Linked DNA regions of Homo sapiens: regions 2, 3 and 4 are each linked to region 1. The links are contacts of gene promoters, found by promoter capture Hi-C in human tissues and cell types (Jung and others, 2019). All regions are on one chromosome and are shown on one strand. The core of a region is centred on a gene start or on the middle of the fragment in contact, and the rest is flanking DNA. Distances in the headings are between cores, read along the strand shown. Region 1 holds the start of KIF1A (kinesin family member 1A). Region 2 overlaps SEPTIN2 (septin 2). Region 3 overlaps ANO7 (anoctamin 7). Region 4 holds the start of PASK (PAS domain containing serine/threonine kinase).

The links. The method cuts DNA at HindIII sites, captures the fragments that hold promoters and counts their contacts. A contact is called where the count stands out against the background at its distance.
Region 2: a fragment that was not itself captured here is called in contact with the fragment with the promoter of KIF1A in region 1 in 1 of the 25 tissues and cell types used here (hippocampus).
Region 3: a fragment that was not itself captured here is called in contact with the fragment with the promoter of KIF1A in region 1 in 1 of the 25 tissues and cell types used here (aorta).
Region 4: a contact is called between the fragment with the promoter of PASK here and the fragment with the promoter of KIF1A in region 1, in 1 of the 25 tissues and cell types used here (dorsolateral prefrontal cortex).

Annotation. Positions count from the first base shown.
Region 1 is chr2:240,818,941-240,821,613 of GRCh38, forward strand. KIF1A (kinesin family member 1A) reads right to left here and starts at 1,279. Exons shown (of 49, transcript NM_001244008.2): 1 at 1,182-1,279. RefSeq lists an enhancer at 1,691-2,265. The HindIII fragment of the contact is 12,815 bases long and covers 1-2,673 here.
Region 2 is chr2:241,323,606-241,326,278 of GRCh38, forward strand. It overlaps SEPTIN2 (septin 2), which reads left to right. Exons shown (of 13, transcript NM_004404.5): 2 at 611-636; 3 at 2,388-2,508. The coding sequence starts at 628. Among named protein-coding and RNA genes, the nearest start is that of SEPTIN2, 9.0 kb to the left of the region's middle. The HindIII fragment of the contact is 3,359 bases long and covers 1-2,673 here.
Region 3 is chr2:241,203,457-241,206,129 of GRCh38, forward strand. It overlaps ANO7 (anoctamin 7), which reads left to right. Exons shown (of 25, transcript NM_001370694.2): 9 at 1-42; 10 at 1,409-1,499. Among named protein-coding and RNA genes, the nearest start is that of ANO7, 16 kb to the left of the region's middle. The HindIII fragment of the contact is 6,060 bases long and covers 1-2,673 here.
Region 4 is chr2:241,148,178-241,150,850 of GRCh38, forward strand. PASK (PAS domain containing serine/threonine kinase) reads right to left here and starts at 1,295. Exons shown (of 18, transcript NM_015148.4): 1 at 1,237-1,295. It overlaps PPP1R7 (protein phosphatase 1 regulatory subunit 7), which reads left to right and starts at 2,290. Exons shown (of 10, transcript NM_002712.3): 1 at 2,290-2,370. The coding sequence starts at 2,319. RefSeq lists enhancers at 249-408, 1,922-2,081 and silencers at 662-711, 762-821, 882-1,241, 2,372-2,673. The HindIII fragment of the contact is 22,172 bases long and covers 1-2,673 here.

The DNA of each region.
Region 1 (2,673 bases), core at 29-2,528:
TCCAGTCTCTGGGGGAAAGTCCCTATTCCCGGGGACGTGGGCGCGCATCGGGTCCGCGCCGGGCGACGTCGCGCTCGCGCCCAGCAGGCCCCATGACTTGGCATTCCCTCCTTCCCCTCCCCCTCCCGCCCCTGCGGCCGGCAGGGCCCCCCCAACCCCACCTACCGGCGCCCAGCGCCCCGCTCCTGCGGACCCTCCCTCCCGGCGGGGATGCTGCCCCGGCCCTTCCCAGCGAGAGGGCAGCGCGGCTGGTTTGGGGGAAGTCAGCGTGAGGAGCGGCTTAAAGCGGGAGTGCGAAGGTCTTCGCGGCCACTGTTCCTTCGTGTCATCCGAGCCCGGGCGCCGGGGGCGCGCCGCCAGCCTAGACCCTGCGGCCCCGCAGCCCCTCCCTCGCCGCCGGGCCACACCTGTTACAGGGGCGCTGGCTGCTGAGACGCAGGCAGTGCTCGCCGGCGGCCCCTCCCAGGTGCTGGGTCTTTCTGGAAGGGAGCTGGGGTCTCTGGCGTGGGAGGGGGTGATGGGCAGGCCGGCCGTGCAACGAAGCGGGTGGCCAGGCCCCAACGCCGCAGCCCCCGCCCCGCCCGCCTGTTTTGCTCCCGGCTCCAGCATCCGCCCTCCCCCACCCCGGGAACCGGAGCAGCTGCCCGCGCCCGGCCGCCCTGCGCGCTCTCCCCTCGGGCCGAGGCGCTGCAGCCGCGCACCCTCCCAGGTGCGGCGTCAGCGTCCTCAGCCCCGCTCACCATCCCTCCCCTCCCCCGCCGTCTGGGCGCAGCCCCTCCCGCAGCCCCGCCGGTGGCTCCTCTCCAGGGAAGCGGAATAGCCGGGGAAGGGCGGGGGTATCCCGATCCCGCCGGCCGGGCGAGCCCTCCCGAGGGCGACCCCCGCCCGCCTAAGCCGAGGGTCCCGCTGCAGCCGAGATCGCGGCAAAGGGACCTTTTCCAGCGGCACCTGAAGGGCGGACACCCCTGAATTTCCCCCATTGTTCTCTGCGGAGATGGAGGAAGGTCTGGAAGTGAAGGGGCCTCGCAGTGCCTGCGCTTTGGGCGGCAACAAGGGCGCCGGGCCGGAGCTCCCCGCCCTGGGCGCAGTGGGTGCAGGTGCGGGCTGCGGGCGCGGGCTGCCGGGCGCAGGTGCGGGGCGAGGGGCGCGGGCGCGGGAGGCCGGGCGGGCGGCGGCCTTACCTCTCCGGCGTCACTGGCGGCGGCCCCGCATGGGCACTGGCATGGGCGCGGGCTCTCGAGCCCGGAGCTGCTGCCGCTCGCCGGCTGCTCTGCGCTGTGACGGCGCCGCCGCGTGACGGGCTGCGCGCCCCCGGCCCGGACCGCCCCGCGCCCCTCCCGAGGCGCTGGTTGGCTGCGCGCGGCGTCCGAGCTCCAGTCGCCAGCTGGTTTGTCGCGCGGGGAGAGGGACGGGCGACGCGGCCGCCGCGGGGATGGGGCTGGGGACGGAGGGGGCCGGGGCCGGGCTGTGACGTCACCGCTGACACCGCGGCGGGCCCCGCGGAGGGTGGGGGACCGACACCCGGCTCGGACGCAGCGTCCCCTCCCCCGGCGTGCCCCTGAGACCTCGCGGGGGAGGGACCCGGCGGCGCCCCGTCCCGAAGCCCCGCGTGCACCTGAACTTGCCCGCGGACCCCTCGCCGGGCCGTCCCCCACCCTGGCCCCTTTCGAGTGAAATCGTAAAACGTCCACCTGCCCCCGCTCTGAGCCAGCGACAGACGCATCGTGGGGGGCGGGCGGGGCTGGGGAGGGAGGGCTCCTTGCGCCAGGGATGCTGGCTCCGGGTGTAACAGGTGCGCGGTGAAATCGCATCTTGTGTCGGGGCCGGGGCGCCGGGGGAAGAGCAGCAGTGACCCAGGCCCTCCCCGCCGGATGATGCAACCCGCCCGCGGACCCGCCGCCTCGCCTCTACCGCGGCTCGTGGGGACCCCCCGCCCTCCTCTCGCCCCACCTCTCCAGGCCCCCATTGTCCTCACCCCAGCCTGTCCAGTTTAACTTCCTTGGACCCCCAAGTCACACGCCGCTCGGGGGCCACCCCGGCAAACCCCAGCCTGCGTCACCCGCCCCCAGCCGCCTTCCTAGTTCCAGGGGCTGACTGGTATCTCTGTGCGCGCCACCGTCCTCCCTCCACCGTCCCAGGGCTGGGCAACTTCGACAAAGCCTCTGGGCAGCTCGCCCATGGGAACCTCCCCGCACTGCGGTGCGGGGGTGCACGGATTTCGGGCCACCCTGAACCCCGGGGCTGGGTCCCCTCCAGCCCAGCCCCTGCCATCGAGCCCCTGCCATGGGCATCCTGGCGTCGCCTGGCTAAGCCTCCCTGGCGCCCAGCAGGGGCCTGCGCTGCCCTAGCGGCCTCGCCGTTAACCATTTCATCCACACTCCTGGGAGAGCCGGCTTCACCTCAGTCCCGACAGCTGCGTGCGAGCGCCTTGCAGGTGGCTGGGGGAGATTCACATCCACTTCTGCAAGACACGGGCCCCCCACTCCCAGCCCCAGCCCCGCCGAAACCAGCTAGACAGCTCCTCCTCCTTCACTATTTCCTGGAACCGCCGGCATGAAAGAGAAATCAATTGTTCTTCCTAACCCTGGCAGAAACAATAAAACCATCTGGGCTTCTGGGGCTGGGGTCTTTATCACCTCCGTTTTCCTCATGCTTTTTAATCTGGCAAGTTCT
Region 2 (2,673 bases), core at 75-2,574, 500 kb after region 1:
TCCTAGGGAAATATTTGAAGTAATTGAGATGCTGTCACCTAAAATAATCAAAAGGCTCCTGATTCAGTTAAAAGAATTCATTTAAGTACAGAGTGTAAGCGAGCTACACCAAAGAATGGTGATTAGCGCTCCCAGGGTGGGGAAAAATGAGGATTGTTTATATAGGCAAAATGGAGGTGCCAAACAGAATTATAACATTTTCGGAACTAAGGCTCATTTAAAGATACAAATTTGATTGGCTACTATTGATTACACTTGAAGGGATTTGTTTAACTTCCTTTTGTAAAGAAGTAACAGTCATAAGGATCTCTCATCTCCCAGTCATTTAGTCTAGTTTTGAATAAAGAATAGGGGGTCTGGTTAATATATACATCTAAACACAAAAGTCAGAAAGAATAAAAGTAGTGATGTTACACGAGCCAGCTGTCAGTGCTTAACTTTTCCCTTTGGCCTAATGCATTTGGAAGGTCCTGAAATTGTATTTTCTTTTTACATTGCCTATGTATGTGTAAGTCTTCTTCAGGTCAGTTCACGCTGTTAAATATACGTGCGTATACATACATACTATGTATGTGCGTTTATGTGTGTCTGTGTGTTTTTTTTTTAACAGACGAAGCTTCACAAAAGATGTCTAAGGTAAGATCATACTTCATGTATCTACAGCATAAGGAGAAATTGCTTTATGTTTTCAGACTGTTGACAGTCGGGACTTATATGATTCATTATTTTTAATACAACTGATACATTTGATTCATTAACACAAAGAGTTCTAATTTAGTTGTCTTTTTTTTTTTTTTTTTGAGACGGGAGTCTTGTTCTGTCACCAGGCTGGAGTGCAGTGGCATGATCTCAGCTCACTGCAACTTCTGCCTCCCACGTTCAAGCGATTCCCCTGGCTCAGCCTCCGGAGTAGCTGGGACTGCAGACACGTGCCACCACGCTGGCTAATTTTTTGGATTTTAGTAAATTCGGGGTTTCACCGTGTTGGCCAGGATGGCCTTGATCTGTTGACCTCGTGATCCACCCGCTTTGGCCCCCCGAAGTGTTGGGATTACAGGTGTGAGCCACCGTGCCTGGCCTAATTGTCATCTTAAAAGCTTGGAGCTTTCTCTTTTTTCAGGCTTCTACTTTCTTTTCTCTACACACATCAGTAACAGTCCTTTTGGCCCCCTTAGTTCATTCCCAGCAGACCAGATAATTTAGAATTCTGATAATTTATTATGATGAAATTGATGGGGCTCTTAGACTTGATAAATTGGTTTAAATCAGCCTTTGCAAGTTAGTTCAGAGATAAATTAGTGCTAAAGAACATATTCTGAGAAAAGCAGAACTTGTGGTTAACATTGCAAGATTATTATTTCTGTTTTTTTTTTATCTTTGAATCCTGTGGGTGTTCATTACTGTCCAATGCAAAATCATCATACCAGTTTTTGCATTTTATACCAGTGTTAGCATGGAACACAGATAAGCAAAAAAAAAAGTCATTATTTCACCACTCAGGAATAACCACTGTTAATATGTTACATATATTCTTTTTCACCTGTGTGTGCATTTGACTATACATTTACAAAATGTAATCCTAAAGGAAATACTATTTTGTATCTTGCCTTTTTCAATTAATAAATTGATTTTTAAAATTTCTTCTCATTTTCAGTATGCCACTGTCTAGATTCTGGTTACTTCTGCTATTCTTGCCTTCTCATATCTCTGTCCTCTCTCTCATCAGATACCCTTCTGTCAAGGAATATTGATGCTTCAGTGTAGTCATCTATGATCTTCTCATTCTGTCTTTTCTTTCTTGGTCTTTGACACTAGATACTCAACATCCCACCCCTAATTTGCCTGCCTCACCCTTGATGAAACTCTGTTCTATAGAGCTAGAAGCACAGCAAGAGAGATGCTTTTTTCCTCGATACTTTTCAGAAATGCATTGCACCTAATACCTGGGAGAAGCTATTCTTTAGCCAAGTTTGTTGAATGAAACCATTCATTCAAAGTACTGTCAGCTGTAGCAGTACTTTGTAAGCTTGACTGATTTTCCTGGAACTCCATAGTCTCTCAAGTCGAAATTTGAAATTGCATTAAGATGTATTAAGCATGTATCTTCTATGTATTGTTAAATTCCTAAACAGAATACTGATTAACAAAATGTTAATTTTCAGTCGCATACAACTAAGGAGTTATACTAGATAAGTTTTTCTTTTTTTAATGCTCCTAGTTGAATACTACTGGTTTTCTGATAGAAGTATGACCTTCTGGAAGTGTTTATACTTTTTAAAAAATTTGTGAAAACTGATAACCTATGTTTGTTTCATGTCTAACTGATTATATCTTAAAAGCAACTACTAAGGTGTTTATTAGTTTGTTTGTTTTTTAATCTTATTTAGCAACAGCCAACTCAGTTTATAAATCCAGAAACACCTGGCTATGTTGGATTTGCAAACCTCCCCAATCAAGTTCACCGAAAATCAGTGAAAAAAGGTTTTGAGTTCACACTGATGGTGGTCGGTAAGAAATTAATCTATAGTCTCCAACTTACTAAATAAATATCTCCCCTTTCCAATCTCTGGAGTATGATAACGTGACCTATAAAGAAAGAGGAAAATTTGGCAGAGTCAAATAACTTGAGAATTTGAACAAATATATGTGTATTCATTAGAAAATTTTTCTCAG
Region 3 (2,673 bases), core at 61-2,560, 380 kb after region 1:
GGTACTTCGGGGAGAAGGTGGCCCTCTACTTCGCCTGGCTCGGTGAGTCCCCCCCGCTGCCCCCCAGACCACCTGGGCCCCCCCAGCTTGGTGTCAGGTTGTAACAATTTGCCAGTCCGTACCCCTGGAGGGCAGCGTGCGTGGGGGCCTGGACGGTGGGCGCAGCTCTTGGCTCGACCGGGCTGCCCTCCTGGCTCCCCTCAAGCCCACTCACTCTAACTGGGCGCCATGACGATGCCGGGCCCTGGCCTCCTAATGCTCCAGTAACAGTGCTGAGAGCCGCTTCTGCTGGTGGGGGTCTCTCCTGACTCCCTCCCCGAATGTCACTGGCCCATGAGGCCCTGGGGCAACCCCAGGAACTTCCATCCTAGGGAGGTCGCCCCTGCCTGGGTCCAGGCCAAGCCTCTCATCTCCTCCAAGCAGGCCATCTGCCCCAGGCAACCCCAGAGCTGTTCCTCCTGGGTCCTGGCTGCCCTCACCCCACTCAGCTCTTGGCACCCTCCCTTCCCCATCCTGGGTCAGACCCAACCCCTTCATTCTGTGCCCCAGAACTTCCAAAGCCCTTTCTCATCCGCACACACAGCCCCACCGTGGACCCAGACAATAGAGCCAGCCAGGGCAGCGGGCGGGGCCGGCAGGCATGGAAGGGCAGCCGGGGCACAGCATCGGGGCAGAGGGACAGCTCCTGTGTGCCAGGACTCACCCGGCCATCTCAGGACCTGGAGCAGCAACCCTGGGACAGCACGGCCAGGCTGGGGGCTTCTGGGGGCAAGCAGGGCCAGGGCTGGATCTGGGCTCCAGGCAGACTTGCGTTTCACAGCAGTCACTTTGGCCAGCAGAGAGTCAGGCAGGAGACAGGACACCAGGCCTGGGACTGGACTAGCCCTATGGGAGGCAGTGGGGGTACATGCTGAGGGCCTGGGGTAACTGAGGGATTGCGGCTGTGGTCAGATGAGGCAGGGGCCAGGGTGGGGGTTGGGTGGTGGGGAGGGAGGTACCCGGAATGACTCGTGGTTTCCCTGGGGCTGGAACACGGGTGGGCCCACAGCTCTGTGGTGGGCAGGATGTAGAGGGACTTCTCTGTCCGTCCCGGGCAGGTTGGTTGGAGTGAGCTGGCTGAGGAGAAGGCATCCAGAGGTGGAGAGCCTGGTGGGCTGGAGCCCCAGCAGCACTGGTGTTGGGGTCAATGTGGTAGGGGTGTCCAGAGTCTAGGGCAGAGGCCCAGGAGGGTGGGCCGTGCCAGAGCTGCCAGGGAGAGCTGTGTACCTCTTGGCCTCCTCACATAGGGCCCCAGCCCCCAAGCTGGGCTGAGGGTGGTCCCTAGGGGACAAGCATGGCTGTGCAGACCCCTACCTGGGGCCCCCAAGCCTGGGTTCCTGATGGTGGACCCCTGCCATCCTCTCTACAGGGTTTTACACAGGCTGGCTCCTGCCAGCGGCAGTGGTGGGCACACTGGTGTTCCTGGTGGGCTGCTTCCTGGTGTTCTCAGACATACCCACGTGAGTGTTCCCTCTCCGCAGCTCTGGGGCCTGGTGCTGGGCCTCCAGATGGGTGTGGGGCGGGGGGACCCCTAGGTGCTAGGTCCTGTGCAGACAGCTGGTGCTTGAGGTGATTGAGGTGTGAGGTGAGCACATGCCTGTCTTCAGGAGTGTCACAGAGGGCCTTGTGGACATGGCTGAAAGGCTGGCAGGTGGACAGGAGTGCTCCCAGGCTGACAGGTGGACAGGAGTGCTCCCAGGCTGACAGGTGGACAGGAGTGCTCCCAAACTGACAGGTGGTCAGGAGCACTCCCAGACTGACAGGCAGACGGGGCGCTCCCAGGCTGACAGGTAGTCAGGAGTGCTCCCAGGCTGGCACCGGTGGATAGGAGTGCTCCCAGGCTGACAGGTGGTCAGGAGTGCTCCCAGGCTGATAGGTGGACAGGAGTGCTCCCAGGCTGACAGGTAGCTAGGACTGCTCTCAGGCTGAAACAGGTAGACAGGTGTGCTCTCAGGCTGACACAGGTGGATAAGAGTGCTCCAAGGCTGACACAGGTGGACAGGAGTGCTCCCAGTCTGACAGGTGGACAGGAGTGCTCCAAGGCTGACACAGGTGGACAGGAGTGCTCCCAGTCTGACAGGTGGACAGGAGTGCTCCCAGGCTGACACAGGTGGACAGGAGTGCTCCCAGCCTGACACAGGTGGGCAGGAGTGCTCCCAGCCTGACACAGGTGGACAGGAGTGCTCCAAGGCTGACACAGGTGGACAGGAGTGTTCCCAGTCTGACAAGTGGACAGGAGTGCTCCCAGGCTGACAGGTGGACAGGAGTGCTCCCAGTCTGACAGGTGGACAGGAGTGCTCCCAGTCTGACAGGTGGACAGGAGTGCTCCCAGGCTGACAGGTGGGCAGGAGTGCTCCCAGCCTGACACAGGTGGGCAGGAGTGCTACCAGGCTGACACAGGTGGACAGGAGTGCTCCCAGGCTGACATAGGTGGACAGGAGTGCTCCCAGCCTGACAGGTGGACAGGAGTGCTCCCAGGCTGACACAGGTGGACAGGAGTGCTCCCAGCCTGACACAGGTGGGCAGGAGTGCTCCCAGCCTGACACAGGTGGACAGGAGTGCTCCAAGGCTGACAGGTGGACAGGAGTGCTCCCAGGTTGACACAAGTGGACAGGAGTGCTCCCAGTCTGACAG
Region 4 (2,673 bases), core at 45-2,544, 330 kb after region 1:
GCCACCGAGTAACCATATTCCCATTGCTAGTTTTGATTCCAGAAGACACAAGTGACCCCACCTCAGACCAAACAGAAGCAAGGACAACTTTGCAGGGAGCATCTCGGCGAACTTCTAGAAGCAACTGTCCCCCTCCCACCAGAACATAAGCTAAGAAGCAAACAGCTCCCATTGCTGTCAGCACAGCTGTACAACAAAAAGGAGAACCAGTTTCAGGATGAGGCCAACAAGGTGAACAGTGCAGTAGAACACAGCAAGGATGTCAGTCCTGGAGGAGGCACCTGCAGAGCCGGGCCCTACCAAGCAGAGTGAAGAAGTCTTTCAGAGGCAAAGCCTCCCAGAGAGGAGTTCAGTACCCAGAAGAGTAGGTGGACGTGGGCCTGGAAGGGCCAAGCATGAGCCCAGAGCCTCCTATGCCTGCCCAAAGTCTTAATTTTATCCCCAAAATGAACTTTTAAGGATTCAATGCTTAGGAGTAACATGGCCAGATATGCATTTTACAAAGATTACTCCAGGGACCATGTCGGTGCAAGGCTGGAAAGCAGGAGAAAGGCTACAGTAATCCAGGCAAGAAATTATAAAGTCTTAAATTAAGGTAGCAGCAGAAAGATGAAGAGAGGGAACCCCTAAGAGAAAAATGGACATCGAATGGTACTGAGATGCGGAAGGTAAGGACGAGAAAGGCCTCAAGACGGCAGCGCAGGCCCCTGCCGTACTCTGGGAAAGAAAAATTAGTGAAAAAATTAAGGCTCAAGTCCAGGTCTTTGCTGTAACCACGAGCGCCGGCGGCGCGCGCCCCCGACCCCGCGGCGCCGGCTGAGCCCGCAGGGACCCACACGCCCAGTGCAGGAGGCTGGCGGGATCCGGGCTGGTTCTCCTGGAGCTCGCCCCGCAGGGCCGGCTGCGGTGAAGAGAGCGCAGGGTCCCGAGGCGACCCGAGGCGCGGGGCCTCGGCGCCCACCGGGCAGGCTACACTGAAGGGCACCCCGAAGACGCTGGGGGCGCGGGGCCCAGGGCCAACGGCCGCAACCCCGCCGCGATTTGGGCACGGAGAGGACGCGGGCTCGGCGGTGCGCGAAGGGCGACGGGCGCAGGGGCGGGAGACCCGGGGTCGGGCTGGTCTAAGAGTCGGGCGGCGGATCCTCCTGGGCCAGGGGCGCGGAGCCGCGCAGGCCCCACAGCCGCCCTGGGGAGATGGCGGAGCCCGGCCCGCTCTCCCGAGCGCAGGTATCTCACCTGGATCAGGCGAGGGTCACGCCAAGCCGGCTACACACCACGGAAAGGAGCCCTTCCGCGCTTTTATCCCACCGACCAATCGCACAGCGACTAGCACCGATTGACAAGCTCCACGGACCAGCCACTTGCGCGTATGGGCGGGACTAAGCTAGCCAGAGTCTAGAAGCCCGCGCTAAGGGTTGCTAGGGACGCACCAAACACCCCTACGGCGCTTCGGAGGAGCCAAAGGAATAATGGGCGCCTCCGCCCCCGGGCCGGGCAGATGCGGTTTCCTCCCGACTCGCGATCAAAATGGGTGAGTAGCGCAGAGCTCGCCTCTTGGAGGCCTCTTTCTGAAGGCGGAGGACGCGGGGCGGCTCGTTCATGGGCCGGGTGGCTCCGCAGGGTAGACGAAGGCTGCAGCGTCCGCACTGGGCTGGGAACGACTTGCAAGGGGAGCCCAGCTGGCGCCCCGGAGCCAGCCAGCTGGCTAGCGGCCCCACCAGCGCAAGTGCCCCGCACCTGCCCGCCTGCTCCGAGCGTCAAGAGAAGGCGGCATTTCGCATGGGTAAAATCCGCGCGGGGACGCCGGGAGAATGTTGTTGCTCTTGCCGTTCGGCCCATTGTACAGACGCAGCCAGCGAGGCTCGCAGAGGTCAGGGATGCACGTAGGACTGGCCCGCACCTTGCAGCCACGGAAAGATCCGCCTGGCCCGCGGCCCCTCCACGCCTCCGAGGTCGAGACAGTGACATAAGTCAACTCTCAAGCCCAGGGCGTCTCTCCACTCTGCCTAGACGTCCACTCCGTCTGCCTGCAGCTACGGCTCTGTGCGTCCCGCTTCGACTCCCTCTGCTTTCCTTCCCAGCTTCTCGCCTCCAGACTGTTCCGGCTCCGCCGCCTGAAATTACCTGCTCTGGGGGAGGCGCGGCGCGCGGCCTCATGACGGAACTACAACTCCCATGAGGCGCTGGGCCCACGCAGGCGCGGCGCGGCTGAAGTCGCCGCGCCGGAATCCCATTGGCAGGGCCGGCTCTGAGGCGGGAGCCCTGATTGGCTGAGGGGTCTGAGGCGACAGATTCCGGAAAGGGGAAGAGCAGCCAACATGGCGGCGGAACGCGGCGCGGGGCAGCAACAGTCGCAGGAGATGATGGAGGGTGAGCGGCCCCTGCGGGCGGCGGCCCAAGGGCCCAGCGGGCGGGGGGAGCTGCGGGCTGGAACTGCTCCGTGCCTGAGAGAAACTCCACGTCCTGCCTCTGGCCGCCGCCGCGCGGCCCCCTGACAGCTGACAGCCGGACCCGGGGGAGCGGGGGAGGCGCTGGACCTCGGGGGAGCCCCGGCCCGGGGGCGGCAGCGGCCGGGAAGGACCCAGAGCTAGGGGGAGAGCGGCGGCGCGAGGCCAGGCCGGGGGTGGGGCTGAATGGGACGCGGTGGCTCCATTCAGTCCAGTTGGAGCCTCG